Linked DNA regions of Homo sapiens: region 1 is linked to region 2. The links are contacts of gene promoters, found by promoter capture Hi-C in blood cells and fetal thymus (Javierre and others, 2016). All regions are on one chromosome and are shown on one strand. Each heading gives the region's core, a stretch centred on a gene start or on the middle of the fragment in contact. The rest is flanking DNA. Distances are from core to core; before and after follow the strand shown.

The links. The method cuts DNA at HindIII sites, captures the fragments that hold promoters and counts their contacts. A CHiCAGO score of 5 or more calls a contact.
Region 1: a fragment that was not itself captured here is called in contact with the fragment with the promoter of LINC01827 in region 2 in 8 of 17 cell types (M2 macrophages, M1 macrophages, M0 macrophages and 5 more); the score reaches 10.4 in M2 macrophages.

Annotation. Positions count from the first base shown.
Region 1 is chr2:195,644,240-195,650,395 of GRCh38, reverse strand. It overlaps a transcript of SLC39A10 not described here. Among named protein-coding and RNA genes, the nearest start is that of SLC39A10, 9.9 kb to the left of the region's middle. RefSeq lists an enhancer at 34-113. The HindIII fragment of the contact is 3,387 bases long and covers 1,138-4,524 here.
Region 2 is chr2:195,571,722-195,578,617 of GRCh38, reverse strand. It overlaps LINC01827 (long intergenic non-protein coding RNA 1827), which reads left to right and starts at 4,125. Exons shown (of 2, transcript NR_187191.1): 1 at 4,125-4,294. The HindIII fragment of the contact is 2,770 bases long and covers 2,498-5,267 here.

The DNA.
Region 1 (6,156 bases), core at 1,582-4,081, 73 kb before region 2:
AACTCAGAGCCAGAGCCAGACTAACACGTTGACCACACATTTGCCCACGTCATAGTGCCATGAAGACTTCTCACCCTAAACCAATTTTTTTCTTTTCTTTTTTTTTTTTTTTTGGAGGAGGAGTCCATCTCTGTCGCCCAGGCTGGAGTGCAGTGGTGGGATCTCGGCTCACTGCAAGCTCCGCCTCCCGGGTTCATGCCATTTTCCCACCTCAGCCGCCTGAGTAGCTGGGACTACAGCTGCCCACCACCATGCCCGGCTAATTTTTTGTATTTTTAGTGTACTTGCCAATTCCTACAATTACACAGTTAGCATTTCATCCCTGGGCCTTGAAACCGGAAGAACTTGGAGGGAAATTGCTACAGTTGTATTACCTATTTATACCTCCGTGAGAATATATTTTCCTTAGGTTTTTTCTAAAGAGGAAGTTCTAAGAAAAGAGAAAACACGGTTGTCTAGATTCTTGAGGGTAGTGTGGTACAAAGGGAAAGAAGAAAAACTGTAGACAAATTGCTAACTTCTCAATCTTGCTTCCAGGCAAGCTCATTCACTCACAGAGTAGTAAGATGAAGAAAAACAGGTGTGGTAGGTAGCCATTTTAGGTCGTTTGCAACTCTACTGGCACAGCAGAAATTGACTTTTCAGAACATAACTCCTAGTCCAAAGGAATTAGAAAAAAGTGGCATAAATATCCACATGAATATGGCAAACTTCAAAAGTATTTGTGGGTGATTACACTTCAATTTAAGGAAAACTGTCAACATGGAAATGAATTAACAATAAGTTACCACGTAAATTTTTTTAAAAAGGCTCATTTGTTAAACTGGTTGAAATTAATACATCCATTTTAAAATGTCATCACATAAGATCAAATTTCAAATTTTGCCTAAGGCTTTAATTAATAAGGTGACCCATTTCACACCTGACATTTATGAAAATAATCAAGTACATCTTCTAAAATCAAGACACACGTGTTCTGTCTTAGCAAATACTGCTTACCTTTATTTCTTAAAAAATATTTGATGGCAACAATGCAGCAAAATTCTAAATATTAGGGAAGGCAAGAAATGAATTGTCAAAACAAGAATAGCTTGCAGGGATTTCTGAATTTTTCTTGTACTATTTCTAGGTAAAGCTTGGATTATATTTTGTATTTCATACAATAAGCCACTTTCACATTCTTCATAGAATCCCATCTCTTCTTTCCAGCACATATCTTTTTGTTGTTGTTGTCATTCTTTTTTTGTTTTGTTTTTTCAAGCACACGTCTTTAGAGAAGATTTGGAAACTTCCTAATGTTTCATGAGAAATGCTTCTGGCAGTGCCCGGTGGTTAGCGACCCATCATGCTTGGCTTTTTCTTTCTCATAGATGATCTCACCTACAGCCTCCAATGATTTCATCACACCCAAGTTTCATTTTAATTACAACGACAGTTGCTTTCTCTAAGCATTTATGTTTTACAATCTTCCTTCCCACCCTAACCACATGAAGCGGTATTATTTAAAATGTGCCAGGCACCATTTAAATGCTCTAAATGGAACTCATTTAATTCTACAGTAACCCTCTGAGGTGGATATTACTGTGTCTATTTCACAAATGAAGAAAACTGAGATGGTTACATAAAATATGGCAGAGCCAGGATCCCAGGCTGGCTCTAGAGTCTCTGTTCTTAACTCTTACATTATCCAACCTATTTTTATTTTTGTTTTTTTGAGATAGGGTCTAGCTCTGTTGCCCAGGCTGGAGTATACAGTGTCACTATCTCTTGGCTCACTGCAGCCTCGACCTCCCAAACTCAAGTGATCCTCCCACCTCAGCCTCCTGAGTAGCTGGGACCACAGGCATGCACCACCATGCCTGGCTAATTTTTGAATTTTTTGTAGAGACACAGTTTCATCATGTTGCCCAGACTGGTCTTGAACTCCTGGGCTCAAGCAATTGGCCGACCTCCATCTCCCAAAGTGTTGGAATTACAGGTGTGAGCCACCATGTCTGGCTGTTTCTTTTTTAAATTACCAACATTTTCAGAGGAAGTGGTATAGAAATTCTTGCAAAAATAGTGACCTGTGCACAGTCTTGATATAAGAAGCCAGATAAGGGCCGAGTTCAGTAGCTCACCTATAATTCCAGCATAGGCGGAGGCCAAGATGGGAGGATCGCTTGAGCCCAGGAGTTCAAGACCAGTCTGGACAACATAGCGAGACCTCTTCTGTACAAAAAAATTGTTTTAAAAATTAGATGGGCATGGTGTCACACACCTGTGGTCCCAGCTACTCGGGAGGGTGAAGCAAGAGGATCACTGGAGCCCAGGAGGTGGAGGCTGCAGTGAGCCATGATTTTGTCACTGCATTCTAGCCTGGGTGACAGAGTGGGACCTTGCCTCAGTAAATTAATTCATTAATTAAATGAAATCCATTTGGAGGATTAAAGGTACATTTACTTTTCAGTCCTTAGATTTATATGACTCTACATCCTCTATAAGTCTGTCTTGGAAAAAGAGACACATAAATATTAAGGGATATATCTTTAAGCAAAAGTTTGTGCTTCTCAGTTAATAGGGTTGCTTTAAAAAATAGAAAGTTTGTGTTTTTATTGTGTGCAAGCCACTCTGATAAGTAACTGATACAAGGGTGAACAAATGAGAGGCTGACCCTTAAGTTGCCTGTAGTCTCGTGGTGGTGGTGGTGGTGGTGGTGGTGGATGGTAATTAAAGAGATAATTACAGTATCGCATGGCAAGTGCTATGTTAGATATAGGTATAGCTTGCAACGGTAGCAAAGGCCAAAATTTGGGGATACACTCAGGCTTCCCAAAGGAAGTCACATCTGAAGTCTGACTTATGGATGAGTAGTAGAGTCAGATAAAAGGCTGGGAAAAGAGCAAACAAGCAGATGAATGAGATGAGTGAATGCCTGGTTTTCAGTTTGGGGAAGTGAAACACACAATCTTGTTGTGTGTTTTGGGCATGGGGAGTTGGGAGAGATGAGACAGGACTGGTAAGGAAGGCCTTTGTGTATCACATTAAGGAGCCTGAATGAGTCTGAATGCTACCCTGAGGGCAACAAGGGCCATTGAAGAATTTTCGGTGGGCAAGTGACGTGATCATGGGCAAGAAGGGAAATCATATTATCATACGACTAGGGTGGTAGACAGAATAATGCCTCCCCCATAAAGACATCCACATGCTAATCCCTGGATCCTATGAACATGTAGATTACATGGCAAAGGGTACAAAGGCTGGAGATGGAATTAAAGTTGCTAACCAACTGACCTCGAAATGAACAAATTAGTTTCAATTATCCAAATGGGCCCGATTTAATCATAAGAGACTCTAAAAATGGAAGAGGGAAGAAGAGGAGAGTCAGAGGAAGATAAAGAGAAATGACACTCAGAGAGATAAAATGATGCTGAATAAAGGGAGCCACAAGCTAAGGCAGCAGTCCCCCAACCTTTTTGGCGCCAGGGACCAGTCTCCTAGAAGACACTTTTTCCACAGATGGCAGGGGGATGGCTTCGGGATGAAACTGCTCCACCTGAGATGATCAGGCATTAGATTCTCATAAGCAGTGTGCAACCTAGATCCCTCACAGGCACGGTTCACCATAGGGTTCGTGCTCCCATGAGAATTTAATGCTGCTGCTTATCTGATAGGAGGCAAAGCTCAGGCGGTAATGCTCGCTCACCCTCCGCTCACCTCCTGCTGTGCAGCAGTGTTCCTAAAAGGCCCTACCGGCCTTACCGGGTCTGTAGGGGGTTGGTGGTGGGGGGAGGTGGGTGGGGGGTGAGGACCCCTGAACTAAGGAATGTGGGTAGCCTCTAAAGCTAGAAAAACAGGAAATGGATTCCTCCTTAGAGCCTCCAGAAGAAACGTGGCCCTGCTGACACCCTGGTTTTGGCTCAGTGAAATTCGTGTCAGACCTACAGAGCTGCATAACAAATTTGTATTGTTTGAAGCCACCACATATGTGGTAATGTGTTATAGCAGCAATAGGAAATTAAAACAATTAGGAAACTGTGATAGGGACAACCCATGTGAGAAGTGACAGTGGATAAAGAGAAATTGTTGAACTGCAGAAGTTTCAAGAAGATAGAATTGCTGGGCACATCAGGGTACGCTTAAGTAAATAAAAAAATAAAATAAAAAGAATTGTTGAGTGTGCTGGCTCACATCTGTAATCCCAACACTTTGGGAGGCTGAGGTGGGCGGATCGCTTGAGGCCAGGAGTTCAAGACCAGCCTGGGCAACACGGCAAAATCCCATCTCTACAAAAAATTCAAAAATTAGCCAGGCATGGTGGTGCACGCTTGTAGTCCCAGCTACTCAGGAGCTGAGGTGGGAAGATCGCTTGAGCCTGGAGGTCAAGGCTGCAGTGAGCTGTGATTGTGCCACTGCACTCCAGCCTTTTTTTTGACACAGAGTGAGACCCCATCTCAAAAACAAACAAAGAAAAAAAGATAGAATCAAATCTGAACACCATCTCTTCTAACTTATTTCCTGTGGCTTTAACGTGATCATTAAGCTTCATTTTCAGTACCTGTAGAATGATCAATACTTTGCAGGATATTGTTTATTTTAATTTTTATTTTTTTGATCAAGGTAATACATTAACATTAGCTTTGGAATTCAAATAGAAATACATGCTACAACATGAATTAACCTTAAAAACACTATGCTAAGTGAAATAAGCCAGACACAAAAACACAGACATTATATGATTTCACTTCTATGAGGTATTTAGAATAGGAAAATTTATAGAGACAAGAAAGTAGAATAGAGGTTACCAGAGGGTTGGGTAGAAAGAAATGGGGAATGGGAAGTTAATGTTTAATTGGTAGCGTTTCTGTTTGGAAAAATGAAAGTAAAAAATCAAGCACTGCAATAAATACAAATTAAACAAATATACTATCTAATGTCTATAATGCTCAAGGAATTGAACCATATTATAGTACGTAAATGATTTTATAAACCTAGAATTTTTCAATGTAATTTTGAGAATAAGTTTCCAGAATTAGTTTGTAATACTCTCCCTATATTTTAAATAGGAATTTCAAGTACAAGCAGTAGCTTTGTAGCTGGAACAGTTTTGAGATTACCAAAATGTATAGGCAATGACATTAGCCAGTATGATGCTGTTATACCTCTGCCCAGCACTCATTTTTTTTTTTTTAAATAAAGTAGTTAGATGGCCAGGCGCGGTGGCTCATGCCTATAATCCCAGCACTTTGGGAGGCCGAGGCAGGCGGATCACCTGAGGTCGGAAGTTCGAGACCAGCCTGACCAACATGGAGAAACCACGTCTCTACTAAAAATACAAAATTAGCCGGGCGTGGTGGCACATGCCTGTAATCCTAGCTACTAGGGCGGCTGAGGCAGGAGAATCGCTTGAACCTGGGAGGCAGAGGTTGCGGTGAGCCGAGATCACGCCATTGCACTCCAGCCTGGGCAACAAGAGTGAAACTCTGCCTCTAAATAAATAAATAAATAAATAAATAAATAAATAAAGTAGTTAGATTGGTCATGGGTGAGGCAACTGGGCAAAACTTGAACATAATACAAATGTGATTTTCTTTTGTTTTCCTTTTTTTTTTTGAGACAGGATGTCTCTCTGTTACCCAGGCTAGAGTGCAGTGGCGTGATAAAGCTCAGTGCAGCCATGACCTCCTGGGGTCAAGTGATCCTTCCACCTCAGCCTCCTGAATAGCTGGGACTACAGGTCAGTGTCACCACACGCAGCTATTTTTTTAATTTTTTAGTTGAGGGGCCTGTGGCTCATGCCTGTAATCCCAACACTTTGGGAGGCCGAAGCGGGCGGATCACAAGGTCAGGAGTTCAAGACCAGCCTGACCAACATGGTGAAACCCCGTCTCTACTAAAAATACAAAAATTAGCCGGGTGTGGTGGTGCATGCCTGTAATCCCAGCTACTCAAGAGACTGAGGCAGGAGAATCGCTTGAACCCGGGAAGCAGAGGTTGCAGTGAGCCGAGATCGTGCCACTGCACTCCAGCCTGGGCAACAGAGCGAGACTCCGTCTCAAAAAAAAAAAAAAAAAAAAAATTTATTTGAGACAGGGTCTTGCTATGTTGTTCAGGCTGGTACTGAACTCCTGAGCTCAAGCAATCCTCCCACTTCGGCCTCCCAAAGTGCTGGGATCA
Region 2 (6,896 bases), core at 2,876-5,375:
AAATAAAAATAAAATAAAATAAAATAAATATATAATTTCTTTATTTTTATTTTATTTTATTTTTTTAAGTTCCAAGGTACCTGTGCAGGATGTGCAGGTTTGTTACACAGGTAAACATGTGCCATGGTGGTTTGCTGTACCTAGCAACCCATCACCTAGGTATTAGGCCCAGCATGCATTAGCTCTTTCCCTAATGCTCTCCCCCACCCCACCTATGTATCTTTCTTTGTGGCCTTAAATACATTTGAGTTTCTTATTTCTTACATAATGATGTCTGTATACCGAAAATAAAACTTTTTCTGACTTATCTATTGTAGATTACAGTATGACTGGCTTTAATGAAAAATAGGCATTTTGCAGAACTATTAAACCGGTCTAAGAATAGATGATATTGTACTGAATCTCCTAATCTAGCAATCCATTCAAACGCTTTTTGTTTTTTTTCTACCATCAAAGCGTGGAAGAGGTAATGGCCTAGGACCAGAATGGGGGTCTTTCATCTGTCATGTTTTATTGTAACAGATTTACTTGAAATTACGTTTCTCACCTGCAGAAACTAAGAGAAAGAGCAAGAATCAGCAGAGTAGAAGGGGGAAAGGGGACAATCAGAGCATCTCAGTGTTTTAGAGTTTGATGTGATCACTGGGCATTTAGGTTAGCCTTTTGCCTTTTCTCTCTCCAAGATTGTGGTGCTTCTGTCCAATTTTTGTTTTACAAGATGAGTTGGAAATTTAATGGATTTTATGTATGCAGCTGGAATTTTGAAACAGAAAATTAAAAGGGAGCTGCATTGGCCTGAAGGATCAAAGTTCTATTAAAAAAAAAGTGGGTTTCTTATATGAAAAAGCTTTAAAAACTAGTATTTTAAAAACATTTTACAGTTTACAAAGCACTTTTCTATAAAATTATTTCATTTGAACATACAATGAGGGAGGTCCAGGGTTATAGCATGAGTTACTGTTAGAGCTGTGACCATAAACCATGCATCTTTTTTGCTTTGTTCTTTTTTTGAGACAGGATCTCGCTATGTTGCCCACACTGGTTTCAAACTCCTGGACTCAAGCAATCCTCCTGTCTCGGCCTCCTAAAGTGCTGGGATTGCAGGTGTGAGCCACCACACCCGGCCTGCATCTTGTTTCCTTTTCTAAGACTCTTTGCATTACATATCTCCCTCTTTCATTCCCCCTTGCTCCTTCTTTCATGAATGATTCTGATAGTTACTTTATGGATGCTTAACATAAAAGACTAAAGGCTTTTTGAGGGCACATTTGGTATCCTACTTATCTTTGCATCTCTGGTATTGAACAGATCCAAAGCTGGTGTTTGGTTAATGTTTTTGAATGGACAAATGAATGAAATTAAAATAAAAAGGCAAATTAAAAAAGAGAAACAATTTTTCAGATTTTAAAATAAGTAAATGAAAACAGCAGATCAATATTATAGTTTTTATATAACTTCAGAATGTCAAATGCTGTATTAGCTGCTATGCATTTATCTACCATATCTATCTATCTATCTATCTATCTATCTATCTATCTATCTATCTGTCATTTATCTTGTTAGCTTCATTCCAAATAATTAATTTTATCATCCATTGTTATTTACAAATTCTCAGGTCACTAAGTCATAATTATAACTTGGGAAAATGTGTCCTATTTTATTGATAGCACAGAAATTAGAATTTATTCTTCAGCACCATAAGGTTTATGGGAACACAACAAATAAAAATGGTCACAATTATTTGTCATGTCTGGAAAAGTACAAGACTGTGACTACTAATTCATAACACATTTATATCAGTTTTACTTACTTATGGCTATTATATTTCCTTTGTGAATTTCACAGGTTTATGAAAGCATTAACTGATCTTTTTATATTACTCTATCTTCATGGCTTATCCACAGCTTGATTTCAACTGGCCATGCTTAGATAAAGCAAATTTCCATATATATTTTTTTCTACCTTCATGCCTAGGTAGAGATCCTAGATATGTTGAGCTTTATTTTATTTCTGCAAATGTAAGTAAACATTTGTACATGTGACTTGGAGGAAAATTAGAGGAAGAATTTATTTATTGTTCATTTAAGACTGATAATTATTGGGTTCATGTACTAGGAAGTTATACTAAGAAAAAGACTCTCAAAGAAGACACAAATTTTACAAAGCCATACTCATAAAACATATAAAGATGATGACATATCCAGGATCAGATTTAGATCCTCTAGATCCATCCCAAAGAAGAAAATACCAAAAAATAGCCCAAGCTGTAACTTTACCAATTTAGTTACTGCTGTCAAGAAACATTGCACAATGCCATCTAGTGACGAGTAACCAATGTATGATTAATCACATAGAAATGACTGGATGAGGAGGGGGAAATTCCCAGGATTTTATATGTAAGAGGGAAAGTCCTTCTGAGAGAATTAAAATGGATAGAGATTAGTTTTATTTCTCCAGGTACACTTAGTGCATGACAATTTATCACCGATCTGAAGCTTGGTAGTTTTTATTTTGAAATACTGTATTGCCACCTACCTCTGAATCTGCAGCTCTACCTCCTTCTGCAGCTGCCCTTCATTATTCCGTCCACAGCTGAACTCAGAACTGTGAGTGTTCTCCAAGCCGCAGCCCCCCATCTAATGACAGGTGGTGGAGGTGGAGCACTTTAGAAACCAGTCTCAACAAATTAAAAAAAAAAAAGGACTTCAAAAAAGGGAACCAAGTTGATTCTTAAAACAATCTGTGCCACATTAAAAATAATAACAATAAATAAACTTGGAAGTTCAAAGAGTAAAACTAAAACAGGGACTAAAGGAAATCATCTTTGTTTTTTGCAGCCAATGACTGTGCAGACCTGATGCTGTCTTGTTCTTGTACCAAATTCTCCTTGAAAATACCAGAGACCTCTCTCTGAATGGCCATAACATTATACCCTAAGGGAAATAATTTTCTCCAACATTTCTCATCTTTTGTAAACAGATGGCATATATATATTTAATATATATATTTATAGATATATTTATAGATATTTATATATATTTATAGATATATTTATATATATATTTAAAGAGAAAGAGAAATACCAACAGTCTGCCAACTGTGGAATTCTTATAGTCCGATAGTTTCTTTTTGGTTATTTTTTCACAACTAAATTAACTAGTGTTGCTGCCATAGATACATTTAAGAAAATCAGACACTTTGCTGCTTTTACATATATCTGTCTGAAACTCAGCAGGAATATTTCAGTTGCCTTAGAAAAATATCCAGTTAACAAACTTTGTGAAGTGAAAAGAAAACCTTATCAAAATCTCCAGCTTCAAGTACATTTAGTTGTTTTCTTTTTATTGTTGCTTACATGCTGTGATTGGAGCACAATATGTGGAAATTGCATAACCATTATTTCCACAAATCAAAGCTATTGAGACATGGGAAGGCCATGTGGAGCTGCTGCATGAAATGTTGGTTAAAAAAATTCCACTCTGCCTTTATATCTAAAGTCTTCCCTTCTTTCAGGTATCAATGGTTTCTTCAGTCGTAAGCATCACTAGGTTGTGTTTCGTTTGTTTAACTGCTTTTAAAATCAGAATTAGCCATAGGTCAAATAACATTTTTTGAAAAACATTTTCTCTATGTGTCTTATATTTTTCCTTAGTTCTACTTTGTTTTGTTATTTTTAATATTTTGGGGGTAATCTAGGCAAAGAGCTCTTAATTCTTAATGCATTAGAACCATCAAGAAACATTCAGTGCAATTTCCATGTCTCAGGGGAAAGTTTTGGTGTCCTCACCTCGATCCATTCCCAGGTTTATGGGGACTAGGGAGAATCCTTTCACTATTATTTTACATTTTAAAATATACCTAATCAAGTGCAGTGCAGTGCAGTGGTGTATGCCTGTGGTCCCAGCTGCTCGGGAAGCTCAGGAGAGAGCATCACTGGAACCCAGGAGTTTCAGTCCAGCCTGGGCAACACAGCAAGATCCCATCTCTAAAAAAAGAAAAGAAAGAAAAGAAAACAGTGGCCAGTCAGATGGCTATGTAGGTCAAAGACAGCCTGACTGAATCATATGAGAGGGAAGAAAAACACTTGTCATTCCTAGCTTTCTGTGTTCCTCTTTTGTTCCAGCAGAGCTTTGGTTGTACTACTCTAATACCCATACAACACTGCTTTCCTTAGAGCCACAGCTACTGCTGAGAACTCAAAAACTTCTTCCTTTCCGGTGAACACGTCTAGACTTGGGCTGGGGATGGGATGAAGATCTCTAACACCTTCCTGGAAATCAAGAAGTGCAAATAGGTAATTTTCCCTTTTTTTTTTTGAGATGGAGTCTCACTCTGTCGCCCAGGCTGGAGTGCAGTGGTGCAATCCGGCTCACTGCAATTCTCCCTGCTTCAGCCTCCTGAGTAGCTGGGATTACAGGTGCCCGCCACCACACCCAGCTATTTTTTTTAGTTTTAGTAGAGACGGGGTTTCACCGCATTGGGCAGGCTGGTCTCGAACCCCTCACCTCAGGTAGATCCGCCTGCCTCGTCCTCCCAAAGTGCTGAGATTACAGGTGTGAGCCACCGTGCCCAGCCTGGTAATTTTCTTAAGAGAGAAATAATGCTTTGTTTTGAGATGTTCTGCTGGGGTATTCTGGTAGCTCTTTCAGTGCTTAAACTCATTCCGAGTCTGCACAAATGGCATAATATTTAGCTGTGCTTTGACACTCTTCAGCACCTGGAATATAATGAGCATAAATATCTTTTTAGGTTTCTAGATCAAAGATTGTTTTCTTCTATAATGTTTCTCCTCAAAGAAGTGTTTCACTGTTCTGTAAAGTAAATTTCAGAGATTATAAGGCCAAAATAGCGATTATAGCAAAAGTCTATGATCAGTTACATTGTCTAATTTTGAATTACAGTGGCAGCTTTTCTTTTATCTTTAAATTTGGTGCCATTTCTTCCTATCATTTCCACCCCTGGGATTTTTCTGGTTAGAGATGTATATAATTGCCTTTCTGCCCACATTCCCTTCTAAAAGAATCTGTTCCCCTGCTGAACAGATGGGCCTAGTCATCTATGTTTATATCATATGACCCTACTCCCTGGTTATGATGATTGGACCAGGGTGGGGAGACCTACTCTGAGAGTCGATCCATAGGTTAGGCCAAGCCAACTAGATGATATTGTTTGAAAAAATTTCACTGAGACACAAAAGTCATAGTTAAGTGATGAGAATTGGAGTTGTCGGGTCACAGGTATTTAGTGTGAGACCTCTATGGCAAGCTTCAGCTACATGAACATTAAATTATGAGGGAACCCAAAGTAAAATCCTTACATGTGGAGCCAGCCTACAAGAGCAACCTAGAATAGACATGCAGAGAGAAGCAGTAGCAAGAGCTTACACTGACATTTGTAAAATCCCTTCTCACCATCCAGAGCCTTTTCTACTTTAAACAAACAGTATGTTTTTGAGCATGGCTTGGGCTGGATTGCCCACCTCCAGAGAACCTGTTTGTCTTACACTAATCAGCATTATTACATCATTCTGTCCATGTGACTGATTCAGAGTAGGCATGTGAACCATTAATGGACAATAAAGGAGACAGTTGCTGGAGTTTTGTTTGTTTTTTTTTTTTTGTTTTTGAGACTGGGTTTCGCTCTGTCATCCAGGCTGACGGGCAATGGCGGGATCATGGCTCAGTGCAGTTTCGATCTCCTGGGCTCAAGTGGTCCTCCCACCTCAGCCTCCCAAGAAGTTGGGACCACAGGAGGGGGCCACCATACCCGGCTAATTTTTTTGATGTTTTGTAGATATAGGGTCTCCCTATGTTGCCCAGGTTGGTCTCTAACTCCTGAGCTCAAGTGTTCTGCCCACTTCAGCCTCCCAAAGTGCTAGGGTGAAAGGCCTGAGTCACCACTGCCAGCCAATTGCTGAAGTTTTTGGAAAAGAAAATTCTTGTCTGATCCATGGGAGTTGCTTCAAAGGTACTCTCTGCTTTTGTAGATATGAACTAGGAAGCATGTAACTGTGGTTGCTTCTGACTACACTAGAAGACGCAGCCTAAGACGAAAACTGCTTCACAGGAGATAGAGTGCAGCAGTGGAAAGAAAGCAGGTCTTTATTGACATTATGGGACTACTGGTTTTGTTAAAATCTGCCCAGTTTTTGGTTCGTCAGTCACATCGGCCAATACATTCCCTTGGTTGTTTAAGTTGTTTGATTGGATTTCCTTTTACTTGTAACTGAACTCTTAAATTTGAGTGAGATTAATGATTTTCTAGGTCTTAGGAGACAAAGCAATCCCTTGAATTTCCTGGCTCCCTAAGTAGAACAGTCGTTAGTACCATCTTGTCCATTGTGTTTTGCTTGGTTCTGTACCACCTAGCAGAATGCCTAGGACACATTAGTTGCATCACCGAAATTTATTAAGTGATAAGTTCCCTCCTCTTGAACTCTCTCAGTAATATGATCAGCATACAATCTTCGAAAGTAGTGGATTTCAGGGAGACCTCTGACTTTCAGGTTGTGTGATGTGCTCTTGGAGAAGATGAAAGACAACTATTAATGAAATGAAAGTGATTAAGGAAGAAGCCAATCAACTTCATCAAGGCTGGGAAAAATAAACTGATAGTGCTATGCAAACAGACATCATACCATATTTTTCCTTATTATATATTTTGTATAGTTATCCTCATTCCTACCTTAATGAAACTGTGTCCTCTACATTTAGAATGCAGATAGATTTAAGAAAAAAAAAAAGATTATATTTTCCCATAGTCAAAATTAAGGTATGTATCTGGGACTTTGGTACATTACCTCACATAATCCTGACAATCCTGACTGGTGGGTATCATTAGTTCTATCATACAGATGAGGAAATTGAGGAAGAGACATTAATTAACTTGTTCAAGTT